Regions from separate parts of the Homo sapiens genome. Here all the other regions are linked to region 1. The links are contacts of gene promoters, found by promoter capture Hi-C in blood cells and fetal thymus (Javierre and others, 2016). All regions are on one chromosome and are shown on one strand. The core of a region is centred on a gene start or on the middle of the fragment in contact, and the rest is flanking DNA. Distances in the headings are between cores, read along the strand shown. Region 1 holds the start of PTAR1 (protein prenyltransferase alpha subunit repeat containing 1). Region 2 overlaps SMC5-DT (SMC5 divergent transcript). Region 3 overlaps SMC5 (structural maintenance of chromosomes 5). Region 4 has its middle 100 kb from the start of ENTREP1.

What was found. Contacts are between HindIII fragments. The CHiCAGO score rates a contact against its expected background, and 5 or more counts as called.
Region 2: a contact is called between a fragment that was not itself captured here and the fragment with the promoter of PTAR1 in region 1, in 6 of 17 cell types (non-activated CD4 T cells, total CD8 T cells, naive CD8 T cells and 3 more). The highest score is 8.6, in non-activated CD4 T cells.
Region 3: a fragment that was not itself captured here is called in contact with the fragment with the promoter of PTAR1 in region 1 in 3 of 17 cell types (total CD8 T cells, non-activated CD4 T cells and naive CD4 T cells); the score reaches 7.8 in total CD8 T cells.
Region 4: a contact is called between a fragment that was not itself captured here and the fragment with the promoter of PTAR1 in region 1, in 1 of 17 cell types (endothelial precursors). The highest score is 5.3, in endothelial precursors.

What each region holds. Positions count from the first base shown.
Region 1 is chr9:69,758,370-69,761,283 of GRCh38, reverse strand. It overlaps PTAR1 (protein prenyltransferase alpha subunit repeat containing 1), which reads left to right and starts at 1,273. Exons shown (of 8, transcript NM_001099666.2): 1 at 1,273-1,431. The coding sequence starts at 1,346. LOC105376076 (a long non-coding RNA gene) reads right to left here and starts at 1,189. Exons shown (of 4, transcript XR_929910.3): 1 at 811-1,189. RefSeq lists enhancers at 1-251, 1,726-1,775 and a silencer at 1,116-1,585. The HindIII fragment of the contact is 9,606 bases long and covers 1-2,011 here.
Region 2 is chr9:70,250,673-70,253,821 of GRCh38, reverse strand. All of the region lies in intron 2 of SMC5-DT (SMC5 divergent transcript), which reads left to right. Among named protein-coding and RNA genes, the nearest start is that of SMC5-DT, 6.6 kb to the left of the region's middle. The HindIII fragment of the contact is 2,969 bases long and covers 292-3,149 here.
Region 3 is chr9:70,268,647-70,271,632 of GRCh38, reverse strand. All of the region lies in intron 3 of SMC5 (structural maintenance of chromosomes 5), which reads right to left. Among named protein-coding and RNA genes, the nearest start is that of SMC5, 11 kb to the right of the region's middle. The HindIII fragment of the contact is 5,613 bases long and covers 1-2,986 here.
Region 4 is chr9:69,423,864-69,426,710 of GRCh38, reverse strand. No RefSeq gene overlaps it. Among named protein-coding and RNA genes, the nearest start is that of ENTREP1, 100 kb to the right of the region's middle. The HindIII fragment of the contact is 930 bases long and covers 1,113-2,042 here.

The sequences.
Region 1 (2,914 bases), core at 24-2,523:
CGCGCCCAGCTAATTTTTTGTATTTTTAGTAGAGACGGGGTTTCACCTTGTTAGCCAGGATGGTCTCGATCTCCTGACCTCATGATCCACCCGCCTCGGCCTCCCAAGGTGCTGGGATTACAGGCGTGAGCCACCGCGCCCGGCCTTTTTTTAAAGACGGAGTCTCGCTCTGTCGCCCAGGCTGGAGTGCAGTGGGGAGTAGCTGGGATTACAGGCGCCCGCCACCACGCCCGGCTTTTTTTTTTTTTTTTTTTTTTTTGTATTTTTAGTAGAGACGGGGTTTCACCGTGTTAGCCAGGATGGTCTCGATCTCCTGACCTTGTGATCCGCCCGCCTTGGCCCCCCAAAGTGCTGGGATTACAGGCGTGAGCCACCGCACCTGGCCAGATTTCAAGGGTGGAAGAATAAAACTGAACCAAGGGCAGCCAGATTTTTCTACCAGAGGTGCAAAAGAAAACCTGATACACAAAAATTTTAGTTATGGCATTTCAAAATCCTAAATAAACTAGAAAGCTCGTTTTTCCTACAAAAATTTATTTTTGCTATTATGAACAAACCCTGTCAGAGCCTTGATCCTTTTTTTTAAATTCCAAAATTGACGCAAAGGCTACCAAATGCAGTACAAAATGAAGTCGAAAAATCTAAAAACGATTTCACTTCTACTTCCTACATACAGATGGCAAATAACTTTTCCTTCACTTTCCTTTCTCTTCCTTTAATAAATTTAAGAATTTTAATTAATGTTTTTTAAAAAGGCTGCTTTCAAGTTCAGAGACAAAAATTGGCACAGTTAGAAAGGAGGTCACCAACACGGTCAAATAGGGACTCGCTCCGCCGCAATGCCTCTGGACCTCTTCATCTCTCAGGCTGGGAAAATAAAGCAGACAAGCTCTGAAAAACGCCCGGGACTAACTGTTAAGAGGCCCTGCATCCTCAGTTGAACATTCCTTCAGGAATGCCCGGGGACCTTGCTGGGGGGGTTCAGGAAGGTGTCTGACTCTCTGGGAGTGTGTCTTGAGGTTTCGCCTAAAACTTAAAATAAGAAAATCGGAGGCCTGAGAGAACTTTGCAAACAAATGTCCAGCATCTTCTCTGACGCTTAGAAAGTCCGTTACCCGCGCGGAGGCGAACTTCTCCACTCACTGGAAGGCCACCAACCCTAGCTAACGCCACGCCCAGGCCGCCAACTGGCTGACCCGGAAGTGCTCGGCGGCGGCCGCGGCGGCGGGGACGCGGCCTAGCCGAAGCACCCGCGCGCGCGCGCGCGCGCTCGTTCTCCGCGGAACTCCCGCCGGCGGCCCGGCTCACGCGGAGGCGCGCCCGAACTGTCGCGGCCGCCGCCAACATGGCCGAGACCAGCGAGGAGGTGGCGGTGCTGGTGCAGCGGGTTGTGAAGGACATCACTAACGCCTTCAGGAGGAACCCACACATGTGAGTCGCGCGCCTCCGCCGCCTCCGAGGGTCGTCGGGAGCGGGCGGGGGCGGGGCCAAGCGTCCACCCGACCTCGGGCGGCGGGCGGACAGCGGGTCCTGGCCCACGAGCCCTTCTAGGGAGGAGGCAGAGCCGTGTCGGGCGGGACCGTTGTCGGCCGCCGCTGGCCCGGCTTTCCGCTACCGGGACGCGCTCGCGGTCGAGTCCCTAGAAGTGACCTCAAAAAATCAAAACGGAACTACTTTCTCTGTCCCTCCCCACCTTTTCATAGGAGTTCACGAAACTCCAGAGACGTCCCCCGTAGGTCGACATCCTTCCTGTGTTTAAGGTACTCGGGCGCACACAACGATGTGGGTCCGTGTATGCCTTGTAAACACAACTCTTGAGATTCATCCCGGACGTTGGCAAGAGGGGGTAACCGATCCTCTTACTTTTAATGAGCCTCAAACCCCTCAGTTTACTAACTAAAGGTGGTTTGAGGCTGCTTTTGACTTTAGCCTTACTTGCCACAAAATTGTAAAGTGACTCCGATAATACATTGTGTTTTGAAAGGTGAACAGAACATTCTCAAGAGAAGCTTCTGTGGGCGCAGTGTGGAGTCTGGGATAAAGCAAATGAAACCTTGATACTTTTTAGCATAAGCGGATTCATAGTTACAAGGAGCATGTTAACTCATTTTTATCCCAACACTGCTGCCCTCTTTAACGGGACACTGCAGAACTGACATATGTATCTCTTCCATTTTACTTGAAGTACTGTGGGAAGATACCGCAAGAGTCTACTTTTTGTAACACTTTGCTTTTATGTAACAAGTGAAAAGAAAGCTATTGAGAGAGAGAGAGAGATCTACATTATACAAAGGTGTAGGGAAGAAGCAACAATGTACCTCCTTTCCCATACCTCTTCCTCCTCAAAGAAAAGAAACATGGCATCCAGTTCTGCATTACTTTCATTTTAGCTAGTTGTTTTTGGAGTTTATTTTTTTTTTTTTTAGTTTATTATTTTTTATTATTATTTAATTTATTTTTATTTTATTCTTTAGACTGGAGCTCATGATTTTTTTTTTTAAGTATTCTAACCGGTTCAGCTTTTCTGCCTAAAAAAGTTGCCAAACGTGTATCTTACCAAAGTGTTCTTTTCCTCCAAGGTGATGATTGTAAAACAGTTAAGAAGCCGTTGGATGTTTTGCTCCCTTGTGGCACACAATTGGAGACGTGCAACTGTGCCACATTAAAAACAAAACACTGCTGGCCTCAAAACACACCTGCCACCTCTGACAGCATCCACTTCCCTCCCCCTTATGACTGCTGCCTTTTTCAAAATGAGAGTGTTTGGAATGATTTCCTGGCAGTATCCATAGTGGTTGCTGAGCCTTCTAAAGAATGCTTTGATGCCTTGCTGTATATCAGTCTTTCGATTTCTTTTTGAGAATGGGAGCCTTAGTGCAAGTAAGAGACGACCTCAAAAAAAAAAAAAGTTGGA
Region 2 (3,149 bases), core at 527-3,026, 490 kb before region 1:
AGGAACCAGCAGATTTGGTGTGTGGTGAGGGCTTACATCCTCATAGACAGTGCCTTCTCACTGTGTCCTCCCATGGTGGAGAGGAAGAACTCATCTCTGTAGCCTCTTGTAAGGGCACTGATCCTATTTATGGGGGCTCTGCCCTCATGACCTAATCACTTCCCAAAGCCCCCACCTCCTAATACCATCATAATGGGGGTTAAGTTTCAACATATAAATTTTGAAGGGATGCAAACATTTAGACCATAACAACTATCTTCTGTGTTCTCTTTTTTGGCTTTACTCCAAGCTTTTGATAATGGTGCCACAAGAAATTGGAACAAGGTGCAGGTAATAGAACCCTGTGAGACCGTCTCTAACTGAGGGCATATTACTTTTGCTTTTGGCAAATTCATAAAGTAAATAAGTGAACCTTCATGGCCTGAAAGGGAGGGAAGAAGGCAGATGGTAAAACTCAAGTCCTTGGTACCCAGGACCAAGTCCCATTCTATCCCCCCAAACGCTGAGCAAAACCACACACTTTCTAATCAATCTTGTTAAAGAATTGGTGGAACAGATCTAGGCAGGGATTAGGGATCTGAGGAAAACCAGTGCCCCTCCCACGGAGGAACTAAAACCCCATACAGCAGGCTTCTGCTGGAGATATGAAAACCTTCTTGAGAGAATGTTTAAAAATGTTTTTCGTTTTTAAACATTTGTTTCAAACATCATACAAAAGTTTAAAATGATCAAAATGTCTGCTGCTTCTTACTGTAGTAGTATTAACATTGGAACTGCATAGTAGTAGCTGTAGAATTGGTAGTAATAGCTAATACAACAGCATTTACCACACACCAGCTATGGTTCTAAGCACCTTTACTGATTTCATTTCTATATGCTGGATCAGTGTCTCAACAGACTGGCCTCTTTCTAAAATTTCTATTTATTGGGTGCAAAAACTGACGGAAAGATTCAAAAAAATAATCACAATTAATGTAACATTTCAAGTGTTCTTTGTGATGTGTTACAATAGAGAGCCTAAAGATGAATGGGCCTTCATCGCTTTCAAGGATGTAAAATGAGAAAACAGTATTAAATTGTTCCAGAAGAACTGACCTTCAGTTTCAGAAAGATGAATGAGTTGCTAAAGCACTGTGTAATCTCCTTTGCTGGAAGTCTGTGCTTATTGAACTCACAGTCCTTCTTGCCCAGGGAAGGCCAGGAACATAAGCAGAGCTCTGGGAGGACTTCGGGAGTGGACGAATGTTTCTTCTCCTACCCCGTTACTTCCCAAAGGAAAGAAAATTGGTAGTTGTCAGAACTGTGGTAAAACTTCAGAAACCAGCTACCTAAATTATAAAACGAGTCTTTTGGTATCAGTCTCCTAGAGTGGCACTTTCATCCTAGCATTGTTCTAACAAGCTGGGATGCTGCCGAGCTCCCCCAGAAACGGGCTGGTTTTAAGTTCTCATTTCCACTGCTTTCATTAGTAGATATAATTTTTTTTTAGAATTAAAATTATTTTTGTATTTTTGTTATTTAGGAAATTTGAATATCCAAAAAGCACAGAGCAGAAACCAGTCACCATTCATCCACATTCCTACAATCAAAAAAAATTAACACATGGCAATTTGACATATCTTCTAGTTTTTGTTCTTTCCTATTATCTACTTTTTAAAAAATTACACGTGGGGCCGGGCACAGTGGCTCATGCCTGTAATCCCAGCACTTTGGGAGGCAGGCGGATCACTTGAGGCCAGGAGTTCAAGACCAGCCTGGCCAACATGGCGAAACCCTGTCTCTACTAAAATTACAAAAAGATTAGCTGGGCGTGGTGGTGTGTGCCTGGGGTCCCAGCTACTCAGGAGGCTGAGTCATGAGAATTGCTTGTACCCAGGAGGTGGAGGTTGCAGTGAGCCGAGACTGCCACTGCACTCCAGCCTGGGCAACAGAGTGAGACTCTGCTTCAAAATAAAAAATAAATTACATGTGAAACATATGATTACATTCCCTTTTTAAAAGTGAGAATAATACAAATAAAATTAGTGTGCATTTGACGTTTATCTCTCTCAGTCTTGTTGCTTTATCCTTTATCCTCCAGAGTTAACTACTCGTATGCGCTTGTGCAGTGTATAATGTCCTTTCAAGCCATTTTTGTATTTTACATGCATTTTTTCTATAGAGAATATGTAATAATATTTTGAGTGCAAATGTATTACATAAACACAATATATTAAATACATACATAAATGTATTAATATAAAAATAAACTAAGAATAGTTATACAATTTGATTTTATATTAAAAAGTATATATTTTGAAATGTGTCCATGTTGATACATATAAATCTAATTCCCTTTTATTGCTGTAGAGTTTTTATGTGAGTATATGACACTTTATCCATTACTCTACTAATTTGACATATAGATTGCTTCCAGTTTTTCATTTTTACAGTGTTTCAGGGATATGTCTTTATGTACATGTGCAAGCATTTCTCTAGGATAGATACCAAAGTTTAGAATTGCTAGACTGTATGCCATACTTATTACTCTCCTTCAGTTTCTTGGTATTGTGGATATTATTGCTTGTGGCAAATTTCTTGGTAACTGATAATTTGAGAATTATATCAGTACAGGCTTGACTCAGTGGCCCATGCCTGTAATCTTAGCACTTTGGGACGCCAAGGAGGGTGAATCGCTTGAGCCCAGGATTTGGAGTCCAGCCTGGGCAACATGGCAAAACCTCGTCTCTACTAAAAATGTAAAAACTGTGGGTGGGCACGGTGTCTCACACCTGTAATCCCAGCTCTTAGGGAGGCAGAGGCAGGAGGATAGCCTGAGCCCAGGAGTTTGAGACCTGCCTGGGCAATACAGCAAGACCCATTCTCCACAAAAAGGAAAAAAACAAAAACTGAGGGGGGAGGATCACCTGAGCCTGGGGAGGTTGAGGCTGCAGTGGGCCGTGATGGCACCACTACACTCCAGCCTGGGTGACACAGCAATACCTGGTTTCAAAAAAAAAAAAATTATATCAGAACAAAATCTCTCTCATTTCCTCTCTCTACCATTGTCTTTAGTTCATCTCTCTCTCTCTTTTTCTCCCCATCTCTCTCGCTTCCTCTCTCTACCATTGTATTTAGTTGGTCTCTCTCTGTCTATGTGTGTGTCTCTG
Region 3 (2,986 bases), core at 64-2,563, 510 kb before region 1:
ACTTATCACCACCTAACATATATACATTTTACTTATCTAACTGTCCCTCCTTATGCCCCTAACTATAAATTCCATGAGGGAAGAGTATCCCCAATGTATAGGTACTCAATAAATATTTGGAAAATGACTACATAAATACATGCCAGAGATTATTCTACCCACCATTCTACTCAAGGAATACATGGCCAGTTAGTATACTTGTTTAATGGCAATAATTTCAACAACTAATGATGAGCTGTTTTACATTTGGTACTCTCAAGGCCATGTGAACCTTCGTGGAAAAAGTGCTTGACGTTTATATACTTAAATTTTATTTATGTGTAGGGTGTTAGGTAAAGCTCTAAATTTATCTTTAAAAAATTAACTTTTTTAAAGTTATATAATAAGATAATTATCACAGCTCAATTTGAATAATTTACATTATGATACTGTGATATACAGGTTGAGTATCCCTGTATACTCCAAAATCCAAAATGCTCCAAAATCCAAAACTTCTTGTGTGCCAACATGACATTCAATGGTAATGGTCATTGGGGTGTTTCATATTTCAGATTTTCAGATTGGGGATGTTGAACCGATAAGTATAATGCAAATATTCTAAACTCAAAACAAATCCAAAATCCAAAACACTTCTGGTCCCAAGTGTTGCAGATAAGGGATACTCAGCCTGTATTAAGAAATATGTAGGCCGGGTATGGTGGCTCACACCTGTAATCCCAGCACTGTGGGAGGCCAAGGCGGGCGGATCACTTGAGGTCAGGAGTTCAAGACCAGCCTGGCCAACATGGCGAAACCCTGTCTCTACTAAAAATACAAAAATTAGCCAGGTGTGGTGGTGGGTGCTTGTAATACCAGCTACTTGGAAGGCTGAGGTGGAAGAATCACTTGAGCTCGGGAGACAGAGGTTGCAGTGAGCCGAGATTGCACCACTGCACCCCAGCCTGGGCGACAGTGACACTCCGTCCCAAAAAAAAAAAAAAAAAAAAAAAATTATTTAGTCTCTGTCCTCAATTCCTGACACAGAACTCCTAATCCCTTGGAATTTCCTAGGTGACAAGTGTGTCTTTTTCTAATGAGGCAACTCTTGTTGGGCTCCTGGATGTGGGCTGGTCACCAGAAAGATAAAGCCATGAACAGAAACTTAGAACCTTCAGCCCCACCAACCTACTCCCCATCCTCTGGGAAGGGAAGCAGGGCTAGAGATTGAGTTTCTTATACCCATGTGATGAAGCCTCCATAAAATTCCCTGAACCATGGGTTTCAGAGAGTTCCCAGATTACGAAACACATCCATATGCTGGGAAAGTGGGGAAAGAAGCTCCTGCACTCCGGACCCTTCCAGACCTCGCCCTGTATTTTGCTAATCATCTGCATCTTCTGTAGTATCCTTTATAATACATGGGTAAACCTAAGTGTTTCCCATCCTAGCAAATAACTGGACCAAGAAAGGGGTCCTGAGAACCTCAATTTACAGCTGGTTGGTCAGAAGTACAGGGCACAACCTAAGACTTACAAATGGCATATAAAGTGGAGGGCAGTCCTGTGTGACTGAGCCCCTAAACTATGGGTCCTGCACTAATTTTTGGTTAGTGTCAGAATTGAACTGAATTGCAGGGTGTGGGGAAAAAACCCCACACATCTGGTGTAGAAGTGTTCTGTGCTGTGTTGAGTTTGAGAATAGCAAAAACAACTTTGGTTTTTCCTATCTCTTAAAATATCCCACACTTAATTAAACTGCCACTTTTATAATAAGTTCTCATGTACATTTCGATCTGTTCCTGGTTTCTACATTCTGCTCCTCTCATCTTCTATACCAGTATCACGCTTATTTTTAAATCAACAACTTTACAGTATACTTCAACATGTGGTAGACAAAAATCTTATTTACAACTTTGCTTTTTCAAAATCTCCTTGGGTTTTCTGGCACATTTATTCTTCAAGATGAAGTTTAGAATCAACTTGTAAACTTACCTGTTGAGACTCTCATTGTAATTGTATCAAATGTATGTATTAATTTACAAAGGATTGACTTTTTTTGTTTTTGTTTTTTTTGCAGACAGAGTCTCACTCTGTCACCCAGGCTGGAGTGCGGTGGCACAATCATGGCTCACTACATCCTCTACCTCCCCAGGCTCAGGTGATCCTCTCATCTCAGTTTCCTAAGTAGCTAGGACTACAGGTGCGCAGCCAGGCCTGGCTAATTTTTGTATTTTTTGTAGAGATGGGGTTTTGCCATGTTGCTCAGGCTGGTCTCCAACTGCTGGACTCAAGCAATCACTTGCCTTGGCCTCCCATAGTGCTGGGATTACGCACATGAGCCACTGCACCTGGTCTGACATGTTAATAATGACATTAACTTTATGTTTCTAGGAACGTATCACGCACCTCCATTTCTTCAGGTCTTGATTTTATATTCTTCAACAAAATTCTATCATATTTTAATAAGTTGGGTATTTCAAAATTTATTTTCTTTTTACTTCCATGTTTATCTTTCTCATCTCTATATAAATAAAAACTGAGTAATTTTTTATAAAAGAACGTTTCCTCATCTCATATCAAATAGTAGGGCTATCAGATAATCTTTAAAGGCTTTTCAGCTCAAAAATGCCACAACTTTCCACTAATATTCCAACAGCAACAGTCTCTAAAAATCACCTAAATAATGTGCATATTTATGTGTAAAGGATTAAAATTATATATACCAAGGATGGTCAACTGGTTTCATCATAAACATCAACTCTAGTCTATCAAAAATAGCTGCCAAGAATGGCCAATTGAGAATATCCAAGCTCAAGGGAAAAGAATACTATGATGAATTATTGGTGTCATAAGGGAGAAAATAAAAAATGGTGACAGAAGTACCAAGTCCTTGTCATACATGAGATTCATCAAACTATTAGCAGTAGTTATTTATAGAATTAGGAATGATGGCAAGAAGGCTTTTATTTTCAACATTATACACTTCTACATTGTTTGCGTTTTTTAAA
Region 4 (2,847 bases), core at 328-2,827, 330 kb after region 1:
AAGAATGGCAGCTAGTCTTTATAGTAACTTCCATGTGCCAAGCATCCTACAGAGATGAACTTGGTAACTCCCCACAACACCTCTAAGAGGTAGAAGCTTTTCCTGTATTATCATTGTCTCCATTTTATACAGGAGGAAACGGGCACAGAGGGTTCAAGCACTTATGCTCAGCTTTCCAACAACTCCCACCTGCACCCACCTGGGACAGGCTTGTCATCGCACACGGATGAACTCAGCGTTAGACTTTTGGGTCTCTTTTGGTTCTTATAATGTTTTCCTTCCTGGTTTTCTTCCATTGATTTGCAAACCACATCTCTTATTCAAATCAGTCTGCCCTACTTCCCCATCCCCAGACTGGAATTGAGCACTGGCCTAGGAGAGCGGGACTTGCTCTCAGCTCCCTCCCTCCCTCCCTGTCTCCTTCTTTGAGTCCCTTTATGGGAAGGGGCATGGGTAGGAGGTGCACAGAGGTTCCCCTACATTAAGAGTTGCCCTTGGGAAGGTCACAGTCCTCGCCTTGCTGGTTCATTCTGCTGATCTGGTCCACTGACCAGGAGATCAATGAAGACAAACAATTGGCAGCAACCGGGCATTCAGGGTCCCTGAGCCCTGGGCCCCATCTTCCAGCTGACCCCTTAGCCACAGTCCTCTAAAGCAGCAGTCTCCACCTTTTTTGGCACCAGGGACCAGTTTCATGGAAGACAGTCTTTCCAGAGACCGGGTGCCACGGAGGGGGATGATTCAAGCACATTATATTTATTGTGCACTTTATTTCTCTGATTGTTATATAATGAAATAATTATACAATTCACCATAGAATTGTATAATTATACAGTTCACAATTCTATGGTGAACTGTATAATTCAGTGGGAGCCCTGAACTGGTTTTCCTGCAACTCAATGGTCCCTTCTAGGGCTGATGGGAGACAGTGACAGATCATCAGGCATTAGATTCTCATAAGGAGCCTGCAACCTAGATCCCTCGCATGCACAGTTCACGATAGGGTTCACACTCCTATGAGAATCTAATGCTGCCGCAGATCTGACAGGAGGCGGAGCTCAGGCGGTAATGTGAGCCAGCGACGGCGAGCGGCTGTAAATACACATGAAGCTTTGTTCACTTGTTGCTCGCCTCCTGCTGTGTGGCACAGTTCCTAACAGGCCACAGACTGGTACCAATCTGTGCACACCTCTAAAGTGCACACCTCTTCCACACAGGTTGTGTCCCCAGCCGCCTGCAGCCACCATCTCCCCAGCCAGCAAGCTCCTGAAGCATCCAGCAACCATCCTCCTCACCCTCAGAGGAAGGGAGGGGCACCCCTGGCTGTCTCTCCCCTGCCCATCCCAGAGCCATTGCTTCCTATTATCTCTCTCACCACCCACAGCACCACACCTTCTGCTGGTCCGGTCCCTCGGCCACATGTAGATAAGACGTTACCAGCACCCAGTTCAGTGTGTGGGGAGGCAAGTGGAGGGCACAGGCCCCCAGCCTTCACAGTGATGCTCTTGGGATTCGCCTCCCTTGACGAGGTCAATATTCCCTTGCCTCCCAGAGTGGAGTGGCGAGTAAGTAGCTCCTTTCCTGAATTCTGCACCCATCCCCCGCCAATGACAACACCCCTCTCACATCACCAGGATGACGGTGGGAAGACAGCTGGTGGGAGGGTCTAGTCTTTGAACTGGCACCTCTCAGCAAGCTCCCTGGAAGTCTGTCTGTCCCACAGGAGACCACAGTCCCCTGATGGATGGTATCTGCCTGTGTGGGTGTGGTCTGCCCCCACAGGCAAGGCTGCTCCTACCATAGACTATACCTTAGCTTCCCCCTCTTGGCTTTGATCTTAGATGAAATTGCAGAACTAGAGAAAAAAACCATTTAACCACCTTGATGCACATAGAACCACTTTATTTAGGTCTTTCTTCTATAATTTTTGCTTAAACTGTGATCCTCAGAGTTCCTTAAACCCTCTGAGCTTGTTTCCTCATCTGCAAACTAGTGTTTATCTCAGGGAGACCGTGTGAGGATAAGCTAACACATAGAAAGCTTTCAGAATGTGCATGGCGCATAGTGGTTGCTGAGGAAGTACTGGCCGTTCCTGGGGCCCAGCAGATCCAGGTCCTCATAAGCTTCCTGGAATTTCCAGACCCCCTGGGTACACCAACGGGAGCCACAACTCAAGAGGCTCCGCACGCACTTGCATGGCTTAGTGCAGGTCGCCCCCAAACACCCGAAGTCCTAAACTACTGATGTACTGAATTTCATCCAAAAGCAGATTTTAGCCCCTGGGAAAAACTTCTAGATGCCAATGCATACTTTTTTAAAAGTTAAAAAACATAACTCCCATAACAAAGATGGAATGAACACATATCAGAGATTTATTAATCATTAATGATGAAACAAGTAAGATGGTAAAGCTGGTCCAAAAAGTATTTGGAGGACCTAAGTATTTATAGACATTTTTAAAAGAATGTTAGAATAAAATTACTAGGTTTGAAGTAAAACCGGTTGCGACTGGGCATGGTGGCTCACACCTGTAATCCCAGAACTTTGGGAAGCCGAGGCGGGTGGATCATCTGAGGTCAGGAGATTGAAACCAGCCTGGCCAACGTGGTGAAACCCCACCTCTACCAAAAACACAAAAATTAGGCATAGTGGTGGGCATCTGTAATCCCAGCAACATGGGAGACTGAGGCATGAGAATCGCTTGAACCCAGGAAGCGGAGGTTGCAGTGAGCCGAGATTGCACCACTGCACTACAGCCTGGGTGACAGAGCGAGACTCCGTCTCAACAATAAAATAAAATAAAACAAAACTGGCTAATGTCCTTAAGGCAATACAATTATAACCTTT